Linked DNA regions of Homo sapiens: region 1 is linked to region 2. The links are contacts of gene promoters, found by promoter capture Hi-C in blood cells and fetal thymus (Javierre and others, 2016). All regions are on one chromosome and are shown on one strand. The core of a region is centred on a gene start or on the middle of the fragment in contact, and the rest is flanking DNA. Distances in the headings are between cores, read along the strand shown. Region 1 holds the start of LOC124904014 (a long non-coding RNA gene). Region 2 holds the start of SPPL2C (signal peptide peptidase like 2C).

Evidence for each region. The method cuts DNA at HindIII sites, captures the fragments that hold promoters and counts their contacts. A CHiCAGO score of 5 or more calls a contact.
Region 1: a contact is called between a fragment that was not itself captured here and the fragment with the promoter of SPPL2C in region 2, in 1 of 17 cell types (endothelial precursors). The highest score is 5.2, in endothelial precursors.

What each region holds. Positions count from the first base shown.
Region 1 is chr17:46,270,974-46,277,267 of GRCh38, forward strand. It overlaps LOC124904014 (a long non-coding RNA gene), which reads left to right and starts at 3,043. Exons shown (of 3, transcript XR_007065823.1): 1 at 3,043-3,118. It also overlaps a transcript of LRRC37A not described here and a transcript of ARL17B not described here. The HindIII fragment of the contact is 238 bases long and covers 1,132-1,369 here.
Region 2 is chr17:45,842,349-45,848,991 of GRCh38, forward strand. It overlaps SPPL2C (signal peptide peptidase like 2C), which reads left to right and starts at 2,533. Exons shown (of 1, transcript NM_175882.3): 1 at 2,533-4,719. The coding sequence starts at 2,559. The coding sequence ends at 4,613. MAPT-AS1 (MAPT antisense RNA 1) reads right to left here. Exons shown (of 2, transcript NR_024559.1): 2 at 1,008-1,813. RefSeq lists enhancers at 2,455-3,439, 3,440-4,423. The HindIII fragment of the contact is 7,159 bases long and covers 1-6,643 here.

The DNA.
Region 1 (6,294 bases), core at 1-2,500, 430 kb after region 2:
AATCTTCTAAGAAAAGTCTTTTAGTATCTCACTCCAAGTATCTAGAAATACCTTAGAATGTTTCAAATTATTAAAAATACTTCTCGGTTGGCTCTTCCCTCCACCTCCTCAAGTACTTCATTATTTTATCCATGGAATATCCCCATTCTCACATTAAGGGCAAGAAATCTGAGACCTATGGTAATAGTTTCTTTTTTTTTTTTTTTTTTGAGAAGGAGTTTCGCTCTTGTTGCCTAGGCTGGAGTGTAATGGCATGATGTCAGCTCACCGCAACCTCTCCCTCCTGGGTTCAAGTGATTCTCCTGCTCTAGCCTCCCAAGTAGCTGGGATTACAGGCATGCGCCACTTTACCTAGCTAATTTTTTTTTTTTTTTTTTTTTGTATTTTTAGTAGAGATGGGGTTTCTCCATGTTTGTCAGGCTGGTTTCAAACTCCCAACCTCAGGTGATCCACCTGCCTTGGCCTCCCAAAGTGCTGGGATTATACGTGTGAGCCACCACGCCCAGCCGTATCATGATAGTTTCAATCAGGAAGAGTGAAAGCTGTAATAACCATGTAACTTTGTCTAACTAAGTGTGCAGAGATCTGAAAGTCCACCAGGTTGGCTCTTTAACATAAAGAAGTAGAGAGTTTGCCTAAAGGAATTAGCAGAAATAGGGAAATAACTTTTATTTGCAGATCCCAGGAAGGTAGATTACAAACAACAGCAAATCTTAGTGTCTCTAAATAACACTCTAGGCCATTTGGAATATAAAAAGGTAATTATTTTACTTCAGAAAATATCTCCAAAAGTTCACTTTTTTTTTGAGACAGAGTCTTGCTGTGTCGCTCAGGCTGGAGTGCAGTGGCACAATCTCAGCTCACTACAACCTCTGCCTCCCCAGTTCAAGCCATCCTCCCACCTCAGCCTCCTGAGTAGCTGGGACTACAGGTGTGTGCCACTTGTCCAGCTAAATTGTTGTATTTTTAGTAGAAACAGGGTTTCACCATGTTGGTCAGGCAGGTCTCTAACTCCTGACCTTGTGATCTGCCCGCTTCAGCCTCCCAGAGTGCTGGGATTATAGGCGTGAGCCACCATGCCCAGCCACAATTTTATTTAAACCTCCTGTAGAATTTGGATAGGAGAATAAAAGCTTTACCAATAGGAAAATACTTTTCATGAAATGGTTTCAAGGATTGTGAACTTGGCAGGTGAAGCATAACAGTTATTGAAAATACTTTTAGCCAAGGAAATCTACTGATGCAAATTAAATATATTTACAAGCCCAAGGCCTGTGGTAGAAACATCCTAAGAGTATCACAAATGTACAGTTTACTGCCTGGATTATTGAAAGCAAAATAGCTGTGTTATATAGATCTTAATAGCAGAAGCTTTCAAAGATTACTCACAGAAAAGCAGCTTTCAGAACTCATTATGTTCTAAAAAATGTATGTTTTTCTTTCTTTTTTATTTTTTTTGAGATGAAGTCTCACTCTTGTCCCCCAGGCTGGAGTGCAATGGCGTGATCACGGCTCACTGCAACCTCCGCCTCCCAGGTTCAAGTGATTCTCCTGCCTCAGCCTCCCTAGTAGCTGGGATTTCAGGTGCCTGCCACCATGCCTGGCTAATTTTTGTACTTTTAGTAGAGATGGGGTTTCACCATGTTGGCCAGGTTGGTCTCAAATTCCTGACCTCAGGTGATCCCCCCTGCCTCGGCCTCCCAAAGTGCTGGGGTTACAGGCGTGGGCCACCACACCTGGCCAGGAATGTGTGTTTTTCAAAAATTACTTTTGAAAGACTAAAGCCCTATAGTTGATAAAACTATAAAATGTCTTTATGTATTTGTATGGTGATAGAAACTGTAAAACACTTTATACCATTAAATACACATGAAATTAATATCTTCCTGGTCTCAGGATTTCCATAAAATTTACCCTTTTTAATTTGGCAATGCTAACAGCTACAGAAGACATATTACCACCAACCAACCGTTGCTTCATTAGAAACTGCACCAAATCCAATGTCAAAAACATTACTTTATTTTTCTAGTATGAAATGTCCTATTACATACAAAAGAATTGCTGTTTAGAATTTGCCACAATTTGTTGAAAACATAGCAATCTATTGCCTACAGGTAGGAAAGTTCTTGCTGCAACAAATTTTAAATGATTAAGCCCATATATATTTCTATATATATGAATAAATAGTGCAGAAATACTGTGACGTGATGAGATGCAGAATAATTTTATAATTCATTAAAATGTAGAATTCTTGCATCAGCACAGTGCATACAATATGTAACTTTTTTTAAAAAGTAAAAGGACAAAATAATCCATATTTAAGTATTTCCATCTTAATATTTTAAGCAAAAATGTTTTCATGTTTTCATATTGAGTGATTAGTCTCTTTAGTTTGTAAACATAGGTTTAAGTGACATCTTCATGTACAAAAAGGAATGGGCTTCATTAGATAAAATTAAGCCAGAATAACCTGTACACCTGAGCCTGTAATAAGAAAGAATTGGGAACTGTAGCAACATCTTTCTTTTAAGAAACCAAGGTCTGGGAAAGGTTTTGCATAGCAGGGAAACGTTGAAAGGAAGGAAACTTTTAAAAGCAATAATTAGATAAATTCCAGAAGTTGATAGGACAAAGCTAATATGAGTTAGAATAAAATCTAGTAGAATTTTTGCAAAGCTGCATAATCCAGCTATGGCAGATTTTATAGAAGCTATTACCACAATGCAGTAATACAATGTGTAAGAACATTGAAAGGAAGAACATGCAAAATACATCTTCCTCATTTTCTTCCTACTGCTTACACTACTTTTCCTTACATGGAAGAAACAAACAAACCAACAAGCAAAAAACAAACCCAATCAACAAATAACACAGAGGATGAGATCATCTAACAAAAAATGTCCTTCATACAATATAAGTAGCTGTCTGTAATTGGTAATTTGCCCAGTATCACAGAATGTACAGATGAAGGCAATGTGTATCTTGTCGCATTACCTTTTTCGTTAGTATGATCAACTGATGCGACAGGATTAGCACCCCTGAAGATTCTTCTCTGACGTGATGACAATTGACTGGGAATGATAAAACGAGGGGCCACTGCTGTCCAGGAGAATTCCAGGTACAATTAGATTCTTTTGCCTTTCATGACCTTGCAGCCCTCCCTCCCCACAGAGGCTTACAGATAATCATTAGCACACATTCAAAGACACCTCTGTCTGTGGGAGAAAAACTATCTCCATTTATTTTGTTTCACATACATCCATAGTTGAATTTTAATACAAAAAGAAAAATTAGAATCTGACAAATGTTTACAAAGAAGATACCTTCAAATAGATTTTACTCATTTCAACCTGGTGTGGAGTAATTGACAAATTGTACTGTTATATTCAAGTCACCAGAGTCTGTAGTCCAGGACCACTTAGCCCAACCTTTATGCAAGCTTGATTTTAATCTACCATGAACAATAAACTCATTGTTGATTCGCAGTTGTGTGTGTGTGCACATGTGTACATAGCAGCTCCTTTCATAGAAAGAAAAGACATCTAGAGGTTGTCTTGTACTTTTACGTACAGGAATCATTGATAAGATATGGATGGATTATATGTAACCGTGGCTGGATTTTATAAGAAAAAATAATTAGTTGACAAATGAGGGCAGCAATAAAAAAGCATCTTTTTTGCAACAATAAATAAATACAGTCAAAAGTTTTCTTTGAGACTCTAAACCAGCTTCTTCACTGAAGAGCAGACGTGGCATTTCCATGGAGTTATACTTGACCCCACAGTATCATTGTTTCTTGCTTTCTTTTTCTTTTTTTTTTTTAATAAACAAAATTTTCTCGCTTCTGCCACAATAATAAAACCATTTGATCTTGACAAGATAATGGTGTCGTTGACTTTTCTTTTTTCTTTTTCTTTTCTTCCTTTTTTTGTTTTTGAAACGGAGTTTTGTTCTTGTCACCCAGGCTGGAGTGCAATGGCTCAATCTCGGCTCAATACAACCTCTGCCTCCCGGGTTCCAGCGATTCTCCTGCCTCAGCCTCCCAAGTAGCTGGGATTACAGGCATAGGCCACCATGCACAGCTAATTTTGTATTTTTGGTAGAGACGGGGTTTCTCCATATTGGTCAGGCTGGTCTCGAACTCCCGACCTCAGATGATCCGCCCGCCTTGGCCTCCCAAAGTGCTGGGATTACAGGCGTGAGCCACCGCACCTGGCAACTTTGCTTTTTTCTTGTCCATTGGACAAAATTGGCCAATAATATAATTGGACTGTTATGACCAATAAAAACAAAGTTTAGGTCAAGTCTTGTCAGGATAGCCTCACTAAAAAGATCTGGCTCCTTAATTTAAAATAGTTCAGGCAACAAGATTCTTGCTGTGTTTTATGTTAGGTTAACATGCTGAACTTTAGGAAGCTGTAGACTGCAGTTTGTTGTTGTGAGACCTACAGAGTATAGAAAAAGGGAACAATTGAGCACCTTTCATTTTTGAAAATGATGCTTTATGCGGATGCCAAAGTAAATAAATCTGGAAGAAGCAGCCATGTTCTTTCATTCACCCTTGGCAAGCGAATAGAAAAGAACGATTAAGAAATTTTTAACCTATAATAATAAAACTTTTCACTGTACACTAAGCATAATAGCTCACTGGAAAAAGCCAATATTTAAAATATGTATGTATATATATTTGTCTAATAAAGATTACAACATTTTCAGGCAACTGGACAAATAGAGACATTTACAGAAGCATTACCATTGTGGTGAAAGGTGCGTGTGTGTGTGTATGTGTGTGTTTATTTACACGGATGAGGGGAATATAAAGGGAAAAATTATGCTAAAACAAAAGAAAAAGCAATTTTAAAATCATATTTTTCTATTAAAGTCCAGAAAGTCTCCCAGTTTCACACAGTTTTATTCACAATTTTTTTTTTTTTTGAGACGAAGTCTCGCTTTTGTCCCCAGGCTGTAGTGCAAAGGCGCGATCTTGGCTCACTGCAACCTCTGCCTCCCAGATTCAAGCGATTCTCCTGCCTCAGCCTCCCGAGTAGCTGGGATTACAGGTGCCTGCCACCACACCCGGCTAATTTTTGTACTTTTTGTAGAGACGAGGTTTCACCATGTTGGCCAGGCTGGTCGCAAACTCCTGACCTCAGGTGATCCGCCCGCCTCGGCCTCCCAAAGTGCTGGGATTACAAGTGTGAGCCACCAAGGCTGGCCTCACAACTTTTGTCAGTAAACCAAATTACTGTACAGTTACCAGGACTAAGTCAAAGGACTTTATATTGCAATAGCAGATAAATTTATATTGCAATAGCAGATAAATACAGTATTCCAATAGTTTACAATTTTTAAATACATTGTTTCACGTGGCTGCTAGAATAAATTTTTTACCACTATACATCGTTAACATTAAAAAATTATATTAGCTAACCTGACTTTTTGGGGGGCAATTTTGGATTACGTAATCACAAGGTACAATAAAACAGTGACCCCAACATCCAGTTCTGATTCCAGTTAAAAATTTAGACTAAAGATATCACAATCCGTAAGAAAAGAAAGAATATGGATGGTATAAATGATGAATTATAACAAAGTGCAGTAATGAAAACAATGTGCAAACAATGCTGGAGATCATAAATTACAATGGGAAAATATGGCAAAGGAAATTCTGGAAACCCATAATAAAATCAAGTTTCAATAACTGGCTAGTTATGTTTCATTCTACCTTAAATCTGGAAAGCAATAGAAATTCCCTAAAAATGCAACAGCAAGTTGTCTTTATACAATTCTTTGCATTGTAATTTTTTTCTTTTTTTCTTTTTTTTTTTTTTTTTGATTTGTTTGTTTTGAGACAGGGTCTCACTCTGTAGCCCAGTCTGGAGTGCAGTGGCACAATCATGGCTCACTGCAGCCTCAACCTCCAGGGCTCAGGTGATCCTCCTACCTCAGCCTCCTGGGTAGCTGGGACTACAGGCACGTGCCACCATGCTCAGCTAATTTTTTGTATTTTTTGTAGAGATGGGGTTTCCCCATGTTGCCCAGGCTGGTCTCAAACTCCTGGGCTCAAGTGAGCTGCCTGCCTTGGCTTCTCAAAGTGTTGAGATCACAGGTGTGAGCCACTGCACACAGCCTAATTTGTTTATTTAAGCAGAATTGAGCAAACGTCTCCATTCAGCTCCCATGTGCTTTATTGAAAATTATGTCAACTTCAGTATATTAAAAAGCTACATAAAATAACCAGGTGGCAAGAAGACATCCTAAGTGGCCCCTACACTATGCGGGCCCAGCCTAGGT
Region 2 (6,643 bases), core at 1,283-3,782:
GGTGAGATGAGTGTAAATAACTGGGTGAGAGAGAATTGTCAGAATCTCAGATGGGTTCCACTTGCTGACCACTTCACATGGCCCTTTAAACTCACCCTCCACTTCAAAGAATCCACAGCTGATGTTGGAGATGATGTTTCATCCCTGTGGATTTCCCAAGGAAAGCAGTTTGGGACTGCAAGAGATGGACCCGTAATAGAAGGAGAGGCCTTGACAGGCACGGTGGCTCACGCCTGTAATCCCAGCACTTTGGGGGACCAAGGTGGCTGGATCACCTGAGGCCAGGAGTTTGAGACCAGCCTGGCTAACATGGTGAAACCCCATGTCTACTAAAAATACAAAAATTAGCCAGGTATGGTGGTGGGCGCCTATAATCTCAGCTACTTGGGAGGCTGAGGCAGGAGAATCGCTTGAACTTGGGAGGTGGAGGTTGCAGTGAGCCAAGATTGTGCCACTGCACTCCAGCCTGCCTAGGGGACAGAGTGAGACTCCATCTCAAAGAGAAAAGAAGGAGAGTCCTTGAGAAAGATCAGTGATTGGCCAGGCACAGTGGCTTGTGCCTGTAATCTCAGCACCTCGGGAGGCTGAGGTGGGCGATTCACTTAAGGCCAGGAGTTCGAGACCAGCCTGGGCAAAATGGTGAGACACCATCTGTACTAAAATCACAAAAATTAGCTGGGCATGGTGGCACACACCTGTAATCCCAGCTACTCGGGAGGCTGGGTCGGGGGAGAATTGCTTGAAACCAGGAGGTGGAGTTTGCAGTGAGCTGAGATCGTGCCACTGCACTCCAGCCGAGCAACAGAGCAAGACCCTGTCTCAAAAAAAAAAAAAAAAAAAAATCAGCATGCTTACTCCTTAGAGGTTAAAATTACATGTGTGTTGTGGGGCTGCCCACAATTGTGCCCCCAAATAGGCATGTTGAAGTCCTAAACCCCAGTACCTGTTAATGCGACCTTATTTGGAAGTAGGGTGTTTGCAGACATAATCAAGTTAAGATGGTGTCATTAGGGTGGGCCCTAATCCATTATAACTATGTCTTTATAAAGAAGAGAAGAGACACAGAGACACACAGGGAGAATGCCATGTGACAACCTATGCAGAGACTGGAGTGACAGGCCAGGCCAGTGGGGAGAACATGAGGACAATGGAACCTGGACTGCCAAGCTCCAGCCCCCAAATCCCTCCCTTCTGGTTCCGGAGGCCCCAGGGTTACTCTCCCGCACACTAACTGCTTTGAAAACCTCATTCCTCAAATCTACTCCATCATGGGTGGCCTGAAGAAGCCTGGACAGGAGGTCCTGGGTGACCTGTGAGGGCATACACCACAGAGCTGGGTGCAAACCTGCAGAGCCAAAACCTGGGGCTCCTGGCTTCAAATCCACCTCTCACCAGTATTTGAGTTCTCTTTCCAGCGGAAAGTCTGCCCGGCCTCAGAGTTGCAGCCAGGAGAGTGGCTCAGAATCCAGCATGAAAACATTTGGAAGACATCAAGGTCCATTTAACCAGCACAAGAGCCCCAGCCTTCTTTGCTGTGTCAATGTGGGCTTCTCCAAGCCTCAGTTTTACTTATCCATGAAGTGGGTGTATTAAGGTAACGTTAAGTGGCTATAACAAAGAGACTCATGACAAATCAATGCCTTAAGGAAGATCATGTCTCTCTCTTGTAACAGTCCATAGTGCACATCCTGGGCTACTGTTCCACATGGAATCCAGGGACCTGGTTCCCTTCACTTTCTTCCTCTCCATTCCTTAGGACATTGTCCTCCTCGTCATAGACAGACACATCACAGGCCCGTCCTTGTTCTGACTCCTGAGAAAGGGAAAGAGAGGGTAAACCAGGAGCCCCACGGTCTGTCAGCCTAAGCCCCTGATGTAAAGAGTTCACATCATTTTTGCTTAATTTCTCCTGGTCACCTGTCCGTTCCCAACTGTAAATGGAGTTGGAGGTGAATTCTGGTCATGTGCCTGGTAGAAATGGGGACCAACTTTGAGGGACAGCCTCAGGCTGTGCAGATATAATGACACCTCCTTGCAACTGTGCAATAGGTACAGCTAGGGTACCTGGCGCCTAGTAAGCCCTCGGTAAAAGTGCTCAATGTTACTGAGCTCAGAGCTCCAAGGGACCTTAGAAACTCTCTGGCCCAACGTCCTCATTTCTTTACAGCTAAAGAAACAGGCCTAGAGAGGAGTGACATTGGCCTGTGTTCCCCATGGGTAAGGAGAAAAGTTGGTTCAGAATCCTATCTGGCCTGCAAACCCCATGCTCACACCTTTTATTTCAAAGTACCTGGTCTAAACCCACTAGGGTCTGGGCAGAGAGCAGGGTCCATATGACCTCTCCCCTGGTCTCCCAGGGTTGGGGGGCATCATTCTAGAGGGACCCTGTGCCCCACAGCAGCGCCCTCGGCTGGGGACCACACAGCTTTATGACTAGGTAGGTGTGGCCCTGGTTTCCAGGACAGGTGGCCAGACTGCTCTGTGACAAAGGGCCACGCCTGCCCCTGGGAGGGGTATTGGGCTGCCGCCCGCAGATGTTGCAGTAGGAACTGAAGAAGATGGCGTGCCTGGGCTTCCTCCTCCCCGTGGGCTTCCTCCTCCTCATCAGCACCGTGGCCGGGGGAAAGTACGGCGTGGCCCACGTGGTGTCGGAGAATTGGAGCAAGGACTACTGTATCCTGTTCAGCTCCGACTACATCACCCTCCCCCGGGACCTGCACCACGCCCCACTCCTGCCCCTGTATGATGGCACCAAGGCACCCTGGTGCCCGGGTGAGGATTCCCCCCACCAGGCCCAGCTCCGCTCCCCCAGCCAGCGGCCCCTCCGCCAGACCACTGCCATGGTCATGAGGGGTAACTGCAGCTTCCACACGAAAGGCTGGCTGGCTCAGGGCCAAGGTGCCCACGGGCTGCTCATCGTGAGCCGGGTCAGTGACCAACAGTGCTCAGACACCACCCTGGCACCCCAGGATCCCCGCCAGCCCCTGGCAGACCTCACCATCCCTGTGGCTATGCTCCACTATGCTGACATGCTGGACATCCTCAGCCACACTCGTGGGGAGGCCGTCGTCCGCGTGGCCATGTACGCACCCCCAGAGCCCATCATCGACTACAACATGCTGGTCATCTTCATCCTGGCTGTGGGCACAGTGGCTGCAGGCGGCTACTGGGCCGGCCTGACCGAAGCCAACCGGCTACAGCGGCGCCGTGCCCGAAGAGGAGGGGGGTCTGGTGGTCACCATCAGCTGCAGGAAGCTGCAGCAGCTGAGGGAGCCCAGAAGGAAGATAATGAGGACATCCCAGTGGACTTCACGCCGGCCATGACAGGCGTGGTGGTCACCCTGTCCTGCTCGCTCATGCTGCTGCTCTACTTCTTCTATGACCACTTTGTCTATGTCACCATTGGGATCTTTGGCCTGGGTGCTGGCATTGGCCTCTACAGCTGCCTGTCACCCCTGGTGTGCCGCCTGTCCCTGCGGCAATACCAGAGGCCTCCGCACAGCCTCTGGGCCTCTCTGCCGCTGCCTCTGCTGCTGCTGGCGAGCCTGTGCGCAACCGTGATCATCTTCTGGGTGGCCTACCGCAATGAGGACCGCTGGGCGTGGCTCCTGCAGGACACACTGGGCATTTCCTACTGCCTGTTCGTCCTGCACCGTGTGCGGCTGCCCACTCTCAAGAACTGCTCCTCCTTCCTGCTGGCCCTGCTGGCCTTTGATGTCTTCTTTGTCTTCGTCACCCCCTTCTTCACCAAAACCGGTGAGAGCATCATGGCGCAGGTTGCCTTGGGCCCTGCAGAGTCTTCAAGCCATGAGAGGCTGCCCATGGTACTCAAAGTGCCCCGGCTAAGAGTCTCCGCCTTGACCCTGTGCAGCCAGCCCTTCTCCATCCTTGGCTTCGGTGACATTGTGGTCCCCGGCTTCCTGGTTGCTTACTGTTGCCGCTTTGATGTGCAAGTCTGCTCCCGTCAGATCTACTTCGTGGCCTGCACCGTGGCCTATGCTGTGGGCCTGCTGGTCACATTCATGGCCATGGTCCTCATGCAGATGGGCCAACCTGCCTTGCTCTACCTAGTGTCCAGCACCCTGCTCACCAGCCTGGCTGTGGCTGCCTGCCGCCAAGAGCTCAGCCTCTTCTGGACTGGCCAGGGCAGAGCTAAGATGTGTGGGCTCGGCTGTGCCCCTTCAGCTGGCTCTAGGCAGAAGCAGGAGGGCGCAGCAGATGCCCACACAGCCAGCACACTTGAGAGAGGCACCAGCCGAGGAGCAGGGGACTTAGACAGCAACCCTGGAGAAGACACCACTGAGATTGTCACCATATCTGAGAATGAAGCCACCAATCCAGAGGACCGCAGTGATAGCTCCGAGGGCTGGAGTGACGCCCACTTGGATCCTAATGAGCTGCCCTTCATCCCCCCTGGGGCCTCGGAGGAGCTGATGCCACTGATGCCAATGGCCATGCTGATCCCACTCATGCCCCTGATGCCCCCGCCCTCAGAGCTGGGCCATGTCCATGCCCAGGCCCAGGCCCACGAGACTGGCCTGCCCTGGGCGGGACTCCACAAGAGGAAGGGTTTGAAAGTAAGAAAGAGCATGTCGACCCAGGCTCCCTTGTGAACTGGAGGCACTGGGACACACGCCTCTCAAAGGGCTGGTGGAACATTGCAGAGCAAAGCCATGCATGGCAACAAGAAATCAGGGTATCAAAGAGATTTCATATCTACCCAAGGAGTCTCTCTGTTTGTCGGGAGTGCAAGAGAGCAGCAACCACATAATAAGAGTGTGCAGGGCTCGAAGGGTCCTTAGGAGTGGGCACCACCCCCAAATAATGAAGGGGGGAAACTGAGGCTCCAAGAGGGCCTATGACTTGCACAAGTTCAAGCGGCAAGGTCGGGATTTGCATCCAGGGCTCACTGGGCAGCTACTCCCCTCTGCCTGCTTGCCCAACCCCTTCCCAATCCAGAGTGGCAGCTTCTTAGCCTGGCACACAGCCCCCATCCCATCCCTGCCACCCACCCTAGGCTCATTGCCCATCTTCTCTCCATGCTCAGGTCAAACAGAACTCCTTGTCCTCCCCACCCGCTCTCTCTGCATATGCTGTTCCCTCCAGCTGGGATGCCCTTCCCTCTCCAGACAGAAACACTCCAGCCTGGCTCCCTGACTCACTAGAAGATTCCGAAGCATCCTTTACTCCTCAGCTCACATCCATTCTGCAAAACGTCTCTGTTCAAGAATCCCAGGCAGCAGCACCAAGCCCAGCAAGTTCCTGTATGCACCACCCATTCCATCTTCAGGCATTGAGTATGCCCCTACTATGTGCATCGCCATGTGGTGGGCACAGGGAAGGCCTCTGTCTAGCTGGGGGAGGGGGAGGGGTGGGCAGACAAGAAACAAACTTAGAATTGTCTCAAAGAGGTCGGGAGGGGTTGGAGAGGTTGGGCCCAGGGTGGAAGAATTCCGGAGACCAAGGCCTCCCTCACTGACTCTAAGTAATGTTCAAGCCTCGTTGGGTCTCTGTAGTCTCATCTGCAAAATGAGACTTATAATACCATTTCCATCTGGAGGCAGGGGCATGGACGAGATGACCTCCTAAGGACTCTACAGGCTTTTAGGCCATGTAGGGTGCTGATGTGTTGCTTAATCAGAGCAGACAAACTCTGGGGTGAGAAGGCTTCCTGGAGGAGGTGTTTTTGGAGGGGAGGAAAGTGTATCCCAAGAGGCGGTGTGGTTCAGTGGTTAGGGTTCTACAGCCAGGCTGCCTACCACAAATCCCAGCCCTACCACTGACTTGGAGTATCTCACTGAGCAAATGACTTATCCATTCAGTGCCTCTGTTTTCTTGTGTGTGAAATGGGATAATAGGACCTACCATCTGGTTCTTAGGAAGTTTGAACGAGTTGGCCTATGTCAGGTGATTGGCACAATGCCCTGCCTGTCCGAAGAGCCCCCTGCACGTGAGCTATGTTTATATTGCTCCCCTAGTGAAAGCCTCACAGACTCAAACCCAGCTCCTACAAGACCTTGAGGTCCCAGCCCAACGGCCCTCTTCCACCCCTCCAAACCCCTACCGCCACAAGCACACGCCAGACCCACCACACCCCCCATGCTTTTTCCTCTTCTTGGAACTCTCTTTCTGCCCCTTCCTTACCACGCCCCGTGAACTTGGCCTGGCTGGCTGCTCCTCTTCGCAGCCTTTCCTAAAGCATCCCTGTCTCAATCACACGACCAGGCACCTTTAGTTTTCCGATCTTCCCCGGTAGAGGGCCAGCTTTGGAAGGGCAGGGGCCTTGCCCATCTTGTTCATCTGTGTAATTTCAGGGCTCAGAACAGCCCCTGGAGTGTTACAGGTGCTTGATGTATTTGCTGGAGGAATGAACGGATGGATGAATGAATGAATGAATGAATGAGGAGTTGACCAGCCTGAACTGCAGAGGAGGGAATGCTATGAGGGAAGGCCCCACTGCCCAGGCCACCTCACAGGCTTCCTGCAGGACCTTGGTCAGTGTTGACGTGAGACTTGGCAGGCCTGGCTGGGCCCTGGAGTGGGGAGAGAGTCCCAGGGAGGCAGTGCAGGTGGTGGGCCTCTCAAAGCCCCGCTTGCCAGGGAAGAAGTGCAGCCTCTCGGTACACAGCAGCTGAAGGCCCGC